Linked DNA regions of Homo sapiens: all the other regions are linked to region 1. Evidence: promoter capture Hi-C in human tissues and cell types (Jung and others, 2019). All regions are on one chromosome and are shown on one strand. Each heading gives the region's core, a stretch centred on a gene start or on the middle of the fragment in contact. The rest is flanking DNA. Distances are from core to core; before and after follow the strand shown.

Evidence for each region. The method cuts DNA at HindIII sites, captures the fragments that hold promoters and counts their contacts. A contact is called where the count stands out against the background at its distance.
Region 2: a fragment that was not itself captured here is called in contact with the fragment with the promoter of SGK3 in region 1 in 1 of the 25 tissues and cell types used here (dorsolateral prefrontal cortex).
Region 3: a contact is called between a fragment that was not itself captured here and the fragment with the promoter of SGK3 in region 1, in 1 of the 25 tissues and cell types used here (dorsolateral prefrontal cortex).
Region 4: a fragment that was not itself captured here is called in contact with the fragment with the promoter of SGK3 in region 1 in 2 of the 25 tissues and cell types used here (bladder and thymus).

Annotation. Positions count from the first base shown.
Region 1 is chr8:66,711,391-66,714,090 of GRCh38, reverse strand. SGK3 (serum/glucocorticoid regulated kinase family member 3) reads right to left here and starts at 1,310. Exons shown (of 17, transcript NM_001033578.3): 1 at 1,258-1,310. All of the region lies in intron 3 of C8orf44-SGK3 (C8orf44-SGK3 readthrough), which reads right to left. RefSeq lists a silencer at 1,132-1,601. The HindIII fragment of the contact is 13,282 bases long and covers 1-2,700 here.
Region 2 is chr8:67,047,034-67,049,915 of GRCh38, reverse strand. The region is part of intron 6 of COPS5 (COP9 signalosome subunit 5); the gene reads left to right. Among named protein-coding and RNA genes, the nearest start is that of COPS5, 14 kb to the left of the region's middle. The HindIII fragment of the contact is 4,996 bases long and covers 1-2,882 here.
Region 3 is chr8:67,075,849-67,078,561 of GRCh38, reverse strand. CSPP1 (centrosome and spindle pole associated protein 1) reads right to left here. Exons shown (of 31, transcript NM_001382391.1): 3 at 1,981-2,080. Among named protein-coding and RNA genes, the nearest start is that of CSPP1, 13 kb to the right of the region's middle. The HindIII fragment of the contact is 3,037 bases long and covers 1-2,713 here.
Region 4 is chr8:67,121,478-67,124,238 of GRCh38, reverse strand. The region is part of intron 15 of CSPP1 (centrosome and spindle pole associated protein 1); the gene reads right to left. Among named protein-coding and RNA genes, the nearest start is that of CSPP1, 58 kb to the right of the region's middle. The HindIII fragment of the contact is 4,479 bases long and covers 1-2,761 here.

The DNA of each region.
Region 1 (2,700 bases), core at 61-2,560:
TCCATGCAGTGGCAGTTAAAGAAGGGGAAGTTCTGGTGTCTCCAGAGTTAGCCGATGGGCACAACGGCAGTTGAAAGAGACCATGTTACACAAGTCATTCAGGTTCTGGCCAACATCTGCTTTGAACAGGTCGCATTCCCAGGAGCTCCAGGCTCCCTTACCCCAGGGAAATGCTGGGGTGGTGGCTTGTCTTACAGAAGTGGTAGCCAAGGGGACCAGAAGGCACACCCGGTGCTAAAACATGCCTAAAACTTCCTCTAATGTTTACAGCTCTTCCAATGACATTTGGGGAACTAAAGTATGGATAGCCTCTTCATTGCTAGAACCGCTATAATATGATAAGTTAAGAATTTGATTTAATATTTATAAAGAACTTAGAAAGAGCCCAGCGCATAGTAAGGGCTATGTAAGTGTTTGGTAAATAAAAAAAGGCACCTCCCAGATTGGCTGGGTGAAGTCTCAATCTGGTGAGAAGGGAGAGAATCAAAATACACAACAGTCTATTTTTCACTTTGACAAAAGATTTAGAAATTACAGTGCTCTGTATTTATTTTGCACCCAAGTGCACACTAAGTAGTCTCTGGTGCAGGACTGAAATTCTACTCATGGTTCAGAAGTCACTGTGCACAACTCAATGAAAGCGTTTTAAGTTTCAAGAGATGATTCCTTTCTCTTTTCTCTTTCCAAGTAACGATGACTAAAAATGACAGAATCTAAAAATCTCAAAGCACTTCTTGTGGGTACATTCCAAAGCTAAAACTGTGAGAATTAATAGGGCCAGATTCACTTGAAGAGACGTAAGGGTTCAAATTACAGAGAACTTAAAAGACGCAACGTATTAAGGTCTTTTACTACAGATCCGCTGACAACAGGTTAAACGATTCCATCCACCCCACTCTGGCGGCTGCCCCCTCCCCGACCCTCGCAGGTGACCTGCACCCACTTTCGACCTCAGATAGGGTCTCCCTGCTCGGCGTTCCCAGTTCCTCCAGGCTCGGCGGCTGCGTGGGGGTTAACAAGGTCCAGCCACCGACGCCCCTTGGGCGTTTAGGAATCTCGAGGCAGGATCTGAATTCACCTCGTGGAAACAAAGACCACAAACTCTCCGGGAGCCGGGGGCTGGGCGGAGGTACGGCTTTTTCCGAGGACAGGCAGCGGCCGAGGCCCGGGCAGCCCTCGCCCCGCCCCGTCTCCTCCCGCCCCGGGCCGCCGTCGGAGTCCCGGGCGCGCGGACCCTCCCGCCGGCCCCGCACCTACCTGGCCCCGCGGTGCTGCTCCCGGCGCGGCGGGCGCGGAGCCGAACGCACTGCGCTTCCTCCTTCCCGGCAGGGCCGCCGGGCGCCGGCGTTTCCTCCTTGACGCGTCACGGCCGCTGGCGGCTCCTCCCGCGGAGCGCGCGGGAGGCCGAGGACAGCCGGGGAAGGCGCCGGATCCCAGCAGAGCGGCGCGAGCGGCGGGCCGGGGGCAGCCCGTGCGGGGAGGGGCTGCAGGCTGCGTCCCGCTCAGGCCTCCGAGGAAACCCGCGCTCCTCTCTCTTCCCCGAGGACCCCCGCGAAAGGCCGGGCCACGGTGCACCGTCTGCCCCCGTCACGCGCTGTGCAAAGTTCAAGAGGACACAGTGGGTCCTGTCTGGAGTCACAGACTCTGGTGTTTCCCTCTGCTCCGCCCGCAGTGGCCGCTACCCTGGGGCCCAAGACCGGCGCGGGCCAGAGCGCCGGGGCCCAACAGAGATGACCTGGTGTGTGCAGGGATCAGGACCCCCCGGGTGGGCCCGTGGTGTTGGGGGGGTTGGCTTGGTGTAAACTGGAAACTCAGAGGAGTGAATTAAATATCCAAATAATTGAGAACAACTGTGATTCATTTAGCATTATTTGGACAGTTTTCCACTTTTGTCATTAGCAGAGTTACGGCCCTTGTGTTTATAAACAGTCGAGAACTTTCACAAATTGGCAGATCCTGTGTGCAGAGAAATTTCCTTTCCACACATCTTTTTAGATCTACTGACTCTTTTTTTTATTCCCATTAATCTCCAAGTCAGCTGAGTGCACACTTTACAGCTCCTTATTACTCATTCTTGAATTACAGAAGCTGCGTTTTAGATCTGTTTATCTCTTTTAACAGATAGAGAAGCTGAGTGGAGAACTAAGAATTACATGGTTCAATGGATGTGGAGTCAAGTGGTTAAGATTTTGAAGTAGAGTGGGTTGTTTTCTTCGTCCCACAACACTACTGTAATTTAGGTCTTATCAGATATCACTTGAAGATAGACTCAGACAAGTACTTAAAGATTCCCATGTGCATATCATGCCTTAGATTTTGAGACAATGATTTGTACTTTAGATCATATGATTCCAGAGAATTTGCCACAAATCTATGAACAAATAAACTGCCAAAGGTTATTAGAGGAACTGGGATCTATGTGTGACTTCCCTAAATTCAGAAGACATTTCCTCATGTTTTAAAATGATATTCAAAGATTTAGCCCCACAAGTATGGGTTAGGACATTCATTTTTAATGTCAATAACCACAATGTGGCCTCTCTTTAAAAAGTGGATTGTGAATCCAAATACTTTTTGTACTTCAGTAATCCTACAGAACTTTCTAAACAGTAGTTTTCAGAAATGAATATAAGAATGCAGTAGATACAAAACAATACATTGCCGGTGGTCCTTTATATGTTTTACTGTGGTCCACAAAGC
Region 2 (2,882 bases), core at 342-2,841, 340 kb before region 1:
GAACTTAGGAACAATTTTTTTATTTTTCTAAAAAAGTAGGCCATTTCATATACTGCAGTATATATAGTGGTTAGAACCACAGGATTTAGAATTAAATAAACTGGGTTTGGAGAATATGAGCTACAGCAGCAGGAGTCATAGCAGGACCGGCACTTAGAAGTTTCTTATGCTCTTTGATGGAGTATTGGTTGAAAGGAGTACAGCTGAAACTGTAACCAAAGGAGGCATTACGCTTCCAGAAAAATCTCAAGGTAAAGCATTGCAAGCAACAGTAGTTGTTGGATTGAGCTTTCAAGGAAAAGGTGGATTCAACCAGTTAATGTGAAAGTTAGAGATAAAGAATTATTCTCCCAGAATATGGAGGCACAAAAGTAAAGAACTACTTTGCAACTCTTCAGGTTTATTCAGTTGACCTGGAAGGCCAAGGATTTTTTTTTTTTCTTTTTCTTTTCGAGACAGGGTCTCTGTCTCTGTTGTCCAGGGTATTGTGGTGGCACGATCTCAGCTCACTGCAGCCTCAACTTCCCAGGCTTGAGCGATCCTTCTGCCTCAGCCTCCCAAGTAGCTGGGACTACAAGGGTGAGCCACCACACCTGGCTAATTTTTGTATCTTTTTGTGGAGACAGGGTTTTGCCACGTTGCCCAAGCTGGCGTTGAACTCCTGGGTTTGAGCAATCTGCCCGCCTTGGCCTCCCAAAGTGCCATTACAGGCCGTGAGCCACCATGCCCAGCCAGATTATTTCTTATTTAGAGATGCTGACATTCTTAGAAAGTATGTAGACTGAAGTAAATCACTATTGAAATGCCATCAACATGAAGCTGCTCATTGCACTTAAGTTCTGAAATATTTAATTATGTAAATAATTGCCATGTCTCTTCTATAATAAACAAATGATATCTATACTAAAAAATAAAACTGACTTTGAAAACAACTCTGCCACTTTACTAGTTCTGAATGACTTTCAGAAAGTTATTTAATGTGACTAAGCATTTCTTTGTTGTAAAATGTTGATATGCTACATACATCATTAAGTACTCTGAGAAAATTAAATGGGCTACTTTATATAAAGCAATTAGCAAAGTGTCTGGCATATAATAAAGCCTCAATTAATGATTTTTTTTAATTTGGTGCATTATATTCATGGGAAAAGACCTCACTTAAGCCTATTATTTACTGGAATTTTTTTTTTTTTTTTTTTTGAGATGGAGTCTCACTCTGTCACCCCGGCTGGAGTGCAGTGGTGCAATCTCAGCTCACTGCAACCTCCACCCCTCCAGGTTTAAGCAGTTATCTGCCTCAGCCTCCGGAGTAGCTGGGATTACAGGTGCGTGCCACCACGCCCGGCTAATTTTTTGTATTTTTAGTAGAGATGGGGTTTCACCATCTTGGCCAGGCTGGTCTTGAACTCCTGACCTCGTGATCCACCCGCCTCAGCCTCCCAAAGTGCTGGGATTACAGGCGTGAGCCACCGCGCCCGGCTGGAATTTTTTTTAGGCTAGTCAAGTGAAGCAGTGTATTTACTGTTATTTTAAATACAACTCTGACAAGCTTTCTGTTCTTTTTTTCCTTTTTTCCTTTTATTTTATTTTATATTTTATTTTATTATTTTATTTTACTTTATTTATTTTATTATTTTATTTTATTTTGAGACAGGGTCTCACTCTGTTGCCCAGGCTGAAGTGCAGTGGTGCAATCACATCTCACTATAGCCTGGACCTCCTGGACTCAGGTGATTTTCCCACCTCGGCCTCCTGACTACAGGATGTACACCACCATGCCTGACTAATTTTTTATATTTTTTCATAGAGACAGGGTTTTGCCATGTTGTCCAGGCTGGTCTGGAGCTTCTGGGCACAAGCCTTCTGCCCACCTTGGCCTCCCAAAGTGCTGGGATTACAGGCATGAGCCACGGCGCCCAGTATCTGTTCTTATTTCTTATCCTTAGTAGTCAGAAGTAGCAAATTAGGATGGAGAATGATCATAATAGCAAATATGTGTTACATGCTTCCTATGTGCCAGAAACTGCTAAGTGTTTTATATGTGTTGTTTCCTTAGAGGCAAGTATATTAATAGCAGCCAGAAGTGACACCTGATGGCAAGGGGAGAAAACACTGTTAAGACCAGAACAGTCTGAACCTTTGTATGAGGCAAGCAGATCTACCTACTCAGCCCAATGTCTGTCCCTGTATTCCAGCACTGCATACATGAGGACATTAATAATCAAGAAAAGGTTAAATTACATTTCTCCCTTGTTGTTTTATGTATAGTACATTGCAGCATTTTAAGAACAAATATGTAGATATATGTTCAACTTCTCTCTTCCCCCAGCTAAGGACGTTAATTATAGCATGTAACCTAAGTTATTTTCAAATTTAAGAAATTAGTTTAGTATATTCATTTTCTGCACATTTGAAATGTAATTGGATATCTTTTATTGTCATTTTAATAGTATAACTATTTCTGGTAGCCTATATTTTTATGGCTTAAATAGCTCTATAAACTTTAGGGTTTTTTCCAAGTCTGTGGGAGGAAAATACATTGGCTTCCTAAACCATTTAGATCCAGACCAAATGAATATAATTGCATCTTTTAAAAAATATTAAGTTTGTAAAAATCATTGGAAGAACTGGTAGCATTTTAAAGAGCCCCCTATAGTAAGCTGTGATGGCAGCAAATAACTTTTCTTGTTTGGTGACTGACTGTCTTTCCTTGCAAACTGAGCAAATAGAACGACATACTACTTTTTGCCAACTAGTTTATTTCCTCTTCATACTCTTCTATTGAAGATCTAGGAAAGAAATATAATGTATACTTAATAACTTTGTGAAATTTTTTTTGTGTTTTAGACTGCAATTAAAAAGTGATACCCCATAAAAATATT
Region 3 (2,713 bases), core at 141-2,640, 360 kb before region 1:
CAACATAGCGAAACACCACCTCTACAGAAAATATATGTATATAAAAAAAAGTTAGCCAGCATGGTGGTGCTCACCTGTGGTCTCAGCTACTTGGAGGCTGAGGAGGGAGGATGAATCACTTAAGCCTGGACAGTGGAGGTTGCAGTGAGCCAAGATTATGCCACTGCACTCCAGCCTGGGCGACAAAGTAAGATCCTGTCTCAAAAAAAAAAGATGTTAAGGAGAAAAAGAAATTAATATTTATTGTGTACCAATTACGTGCCAGCCATCTTTTCACGTATTTAACTTTCGCCCATAACGACTTTTTGAGATAGATGTCATAAGATAAGGAAACAAAGTGTAGCTCCTGACAGGTCATAAAGGCATCACAGCCCAATCCAAAGCAAGCTGTAACCCTAGAATTTAAAAGGGATTCTGTCTAACCTTAGCGACCTTAGTGCTTGAGATAACCTACTATTAAACTTTTTAAAAATTATCTCTTGGAATAATTAAAATTTAGATTCATAAAAACGTAGGGCTGGAAGATAATCAAACTTATTTCACAGAAAAAAAATTGAGAGCCTTAGAGATTAAAAAATTTTACCAATATATAATACTTTAGTTCACTAATGCTGTATATTAATAATTTATAAGAGATTCAAAATGGAAAGAGTTATCTATCTGATATTAAAAGTAGGGCACTCACTTTGAGCTATTTGTCTAATGCAGAGACAAAGCTTACTGACTATCCAGTTTCTTGGCCGGCATCCCCTTGTATCCACTGGCACACAAAAACAATTTAGGAGTATACCTACATCCATGAAAAGCTGTCCATTTGAGAACAATGCTTTAATCAAATGAACTTATCATAGTTGATTTTCTTTTTGTGAAAAAGTTTGTCATCATCAATAAATCACAAAATGCACATTGAAAATATTCATACAGGTCGGGCACAGTGGCTCACGCCTGTAACCCCAGCTTTGGGAGGCCGAGGCGGGCAGGCAGATCACCTGAGGTCAGGAGTTCGAGACCAGCCTGGCCAACACTGCGAAACCCTGTCTCTACCAAAAATATAAACAATTAGCTGAGTGTGGTGGCATGCGCCTGTAATCCCAGCTACTTGAGAGACTGAGACAGGAGAATCGCCTGAACCTGGGAGGTGGAGGCGGCAGTGAGCCGAGATCGTGCCACTGCACTCCAGCCTGGGCGACAGGGTCAGACTCAGCCTTGAAGAAAAAAAAAAAAAATTATATATATTCATACAGACTGGGCATGGTGGCTCAGGCCTGTAATTGTAGTACTTTGGGAGGCCAAGGCAGGAGGATTGCTTGAACCCAGGAGTTCAAGATAACACTGAACTATGATCATGCCACTGCACTCCAGCCTGAGTGACAGAGAGAGAGAGAGAGAGACCCTGTCTTTAATAAATAAACAAAAATTTTTACATATTCATACATTTTCTTTTTTTAAAATGTATACCTACCAACAAGCCAAAATGTGGTAAAAAGTTTCCAAATATTTTCATACCATACCATAATCAAAGCATTAGTATGGCTACAGTATTAACTTCTTTACAATTCCAACATGATCATCAATAATTAAAATAGTCTTTCACCAAACAGCATTTTGTACCCTTTAAGCATATTTCTTTAATTTTTAAATAAGCAAGTTCACCATTTTCAATCAACAAATAAAAGTTTCTCTTCTCTCTCTCTCTCACACACACAAATTCCTTTCAAAGTTTTCAATTTTTAAGTTATGTTATACACACCTTCTTCTATAAGTTCCATAAATCATAACCAATGCAGTATCACATAAAACAAGTACAAAGTTTTCAGTATGAGTTCTATTTCATATGTAGACCATATTGACTTACGTAAGATTCCAGAAAGAAAAACTACTAGGATTCCAAATAAATCTTTTTTTCTGACAAGACAAACCTCTTTCAGAAGAGCCCACTAAGGATATCTTAAAATAAGTTTAGCACATCTAATGACATACCTAAGGAACCCCTGGTCTGTTGACTATTTGGTGGTATGTTTTCCTTAGCCATAGAGATCAGTATCTTACTGTTTTCAGAAAGCTTCGCTGACAACTTTCCCTGAAAGAGACATAATGTTTACAAAAGCAAGAGGAAAAAAAAAACCATGAAATATACAACTCATCTCAAATTTTAATTAAACAGCTTGATGAAATTACACAGTACATCATAGAAGAAATTAAGTGTAAGGTTTGAGGAATTAGCCAAAGGTATTTTAATTTTATAATAGATATTCTAATATTTAACTCATTCACTTACCAACAAATATTTACTGAGTTCCCATTAAGTGCCAAACATTTTGTCAAGCATTGAAAGTATAAGAGTTTTAAAAAATAGAAGAATTTCTGCCATCATGAAGCTTATAAACTATTGGGGGGACACATAATGAACTCAACACATGATTAGATTATGTGATATGTAGATAGTGGCAGGAAGTGGTTATGGAAAAAAAAAAAAGCAGATTAAAGTAAGGAGGCCCAGAAATGCTGGGGGACTATAAGGCCTCACTGAGCAGGTGATACTTGAACTAAGACTTAAAATTATTTATGTACAAATTAATGTTAGAAATTATAACAAAACTGTCTTTAAAGCTATGTACTCCAAATCATGTAACTCCAAAGCCGTAAGCTGGTCCTAACTACTGGAGAGTGGTTAAGAGATAGACTCTGGAGCTGCATAAAGGTTCCACTCCTG
Region 4 (2,761 bases), core at 134-2,633, 410 kb before region 1:
ATTGAATGCTATTAAATATTTAACATAAAAGAAACTAATAGGCCGGGTGCGGTGGCTCATGCCTGTAATCCCAGCACTTTGGGAGGCCAAGGCGGGTGGATCATGAGGTCAGGAGATCGAGACCATCCTGGCTAACGCGGTGAAACCCCGTCTCTACTAAAAATACAAAAAATTAGCCAGGCGTGGTGGCGGGCGCCTGTAGTCCCAGCTACTCGGGAGGCTGAGGCAGGAGAATGACATGAACCCAGAAGGTGGGGCTTGCAATGAGCCGAGATCGCACCACTGCACTCCAGCCTGGGCAACAGCGAGACTGCGTCTTAAAAAAAAAAAAAAGAGCCTGGCCGCGGTGGCTCATGCCCGTAATCCCAGCACTTTGTGGGGCTGGGATCACTTGAGCCAGAAGTTTGAGACCAGCCTGGGAAACATGGCAAAACCCTATCTCTACAAAAAATACAAATATTTAGCCAGGCGTGGTGGCATGTGCCTGTAGTTCCAGCTCCTTGAGAGATTGGAGTGGAAGGATTGCTTGAGCCCAGGAGTTTGAGGCTGCAGTGAGCTCTGTGATCACACCACTGCACTCCAGCTTGGGAAAGAGAATGAGACCCTATCTCTTAAAAAAAAAAAAAAACGAAGAAGAAAAAGAAGGTAATAAAGGAGGATTAGAGGAATAAAAAGACATAAGACATATAGAAAAAAATTGCAAAATGGCAAACATAAAAACCAGGAAGTAACTGCATTCTGTCTACATAGAGACATCTTTTAGATTCAAAGACAAATAAATTGAGAGTAAATACGAAAAATCATACACCATGCAAACAGTACTAAAAGAGAACCAGAACAGCAACATTTATATTAGAACTAAAAGCACTTTATGACAAAAATTGTTAGCAGAGACACAGAAGAATCTCTGACACTAATAAAAGGGTCAAATCTTCAGTAAGACACAATTATAAACATATGCATATAAAGAGAGACCTAAGAAACGAAACAAAAACTGACAGAATTGAAGAGAATAATACACAAGTCAAGAATAATAGTTGGAGTCCGGGTGTGGTGGCTCATGGCTATATTCCTCGTACTTTGGGAGGCTGAGGCAAGAGGATCGCTTGAGGCCAGGAGTTCAAGATCACACTGGGCAACACAGGGAGACCCTGTTTCCACAAAAAATAAACAAATCAGTCAGGTGCAGTGGCACACGGCTGTAGTCCTAGCTGCTCAGGAGGCTGGGGTAGGAGGATTGCTTGAGCCCAGGAGGTTGAGGCTACAGCAAACTATGGTCTCACAACTGTATTCCAGCTTGGGTGACAGAGCAAGACTGTATATCAGAACACACACACACACAAACACACACACACACACACACAGAGCAAGACTGTATATCAGAACACACACACACAAAGTAACAGTTGGAGATTAAATACTTCACTTCTAATAATAGAACAACTACACAGAAGATCAAGGAAATAAAAGAAATAACACTATAAGCCAACTAGATCTAAGAGACACTTATAGAATAATACACTCACCAACAGGACAATACACATTCTTCTCAAATGCATGTGGAACATTCTCTAGGACAGACCATGTTAGGTCTTAAAATAAGCCTCAATAAATTAAAAAGGACTGACTGAAATCATACAAAGTTTGTTCTCCTACTGCAATGTAATTATATTAGACATGAGTAACAGAAGGATATTTGGGAAATTCACAATTATGTGGAAAGTAAACAACACATTTCAAAATAACCAACAGGTTGATGAAGAAATTTTTAAAAATTGGAAAATATTTTGAGAGCAATGAAAGTGAAAAGACAACATACCAAAACTTAAGGGATGTAGCTAAAACAGTACTAAGAGGAAAGCTTATAGTTGTAAGTATACATACCAAACAAAGGGAAAGATACCAAATCAATAATCTAGATTTTCATCTCTAGAAACCAGAAAAATGAGAGCAAACGGAACCCAAAGTAAGCAGAAGGGAGGAAATTTAAAAGATTACAGCAGAAATCAATGAAATGGAAACTAGAATAACGACAGAAAAAAAAAAAATCAACCAAACCAATAGTTTGTTATTTGAAAAGATCAACAAGATTGACAAATGCTTAGCTACACTGACCAACAAGAAGGCTCTGAATCTTCTATTAAAATCAGGAATTCTGTGATGGGAAGAATGAGGTCAGAAAAATAAATAAATAAATAAATAATAAAATATAATCAGAAATTCACAAAGGGGCATCACTATTAATCTTTTAAAAATAAGAAAGGACTGTAAGGGAATATTATCAACAATTATATGCCAACAAATCGGATAACCTAGATGAGATGGACAAATTCCTAGAAATAAAAACCTATCAAGACTAAATCATGAAGAAAAAGAAAATCTGAATAGACCTATATAACTAGTTACTAAAGAGACTGAATCTCTAATCAATAATCACCCAACAAAGAAAAGCCCTGTACCTTATGGTTTCACTGGTGAATTCTATCAAACATTTAAAGAAGAACTAATATAAATCCTCAAACTTTTTCAAAAAGTTCAAGAGGAGGGAACACTTCCTAATTCCTTCTATAAGCCCAACATTATGCTTATACCAAAGCTAGACAGTATAAGGAAACTACAACAAGATCACATATGAACACTGATGCAAAACTCCTTAACAAAATACTAGCAAACCAAATCCAGCAGCATATTAAAATGATTATACACCATGACTAAGTGGAATTTATTCCTGGAAAACAAGGATGGTTATGGTTAAACATAA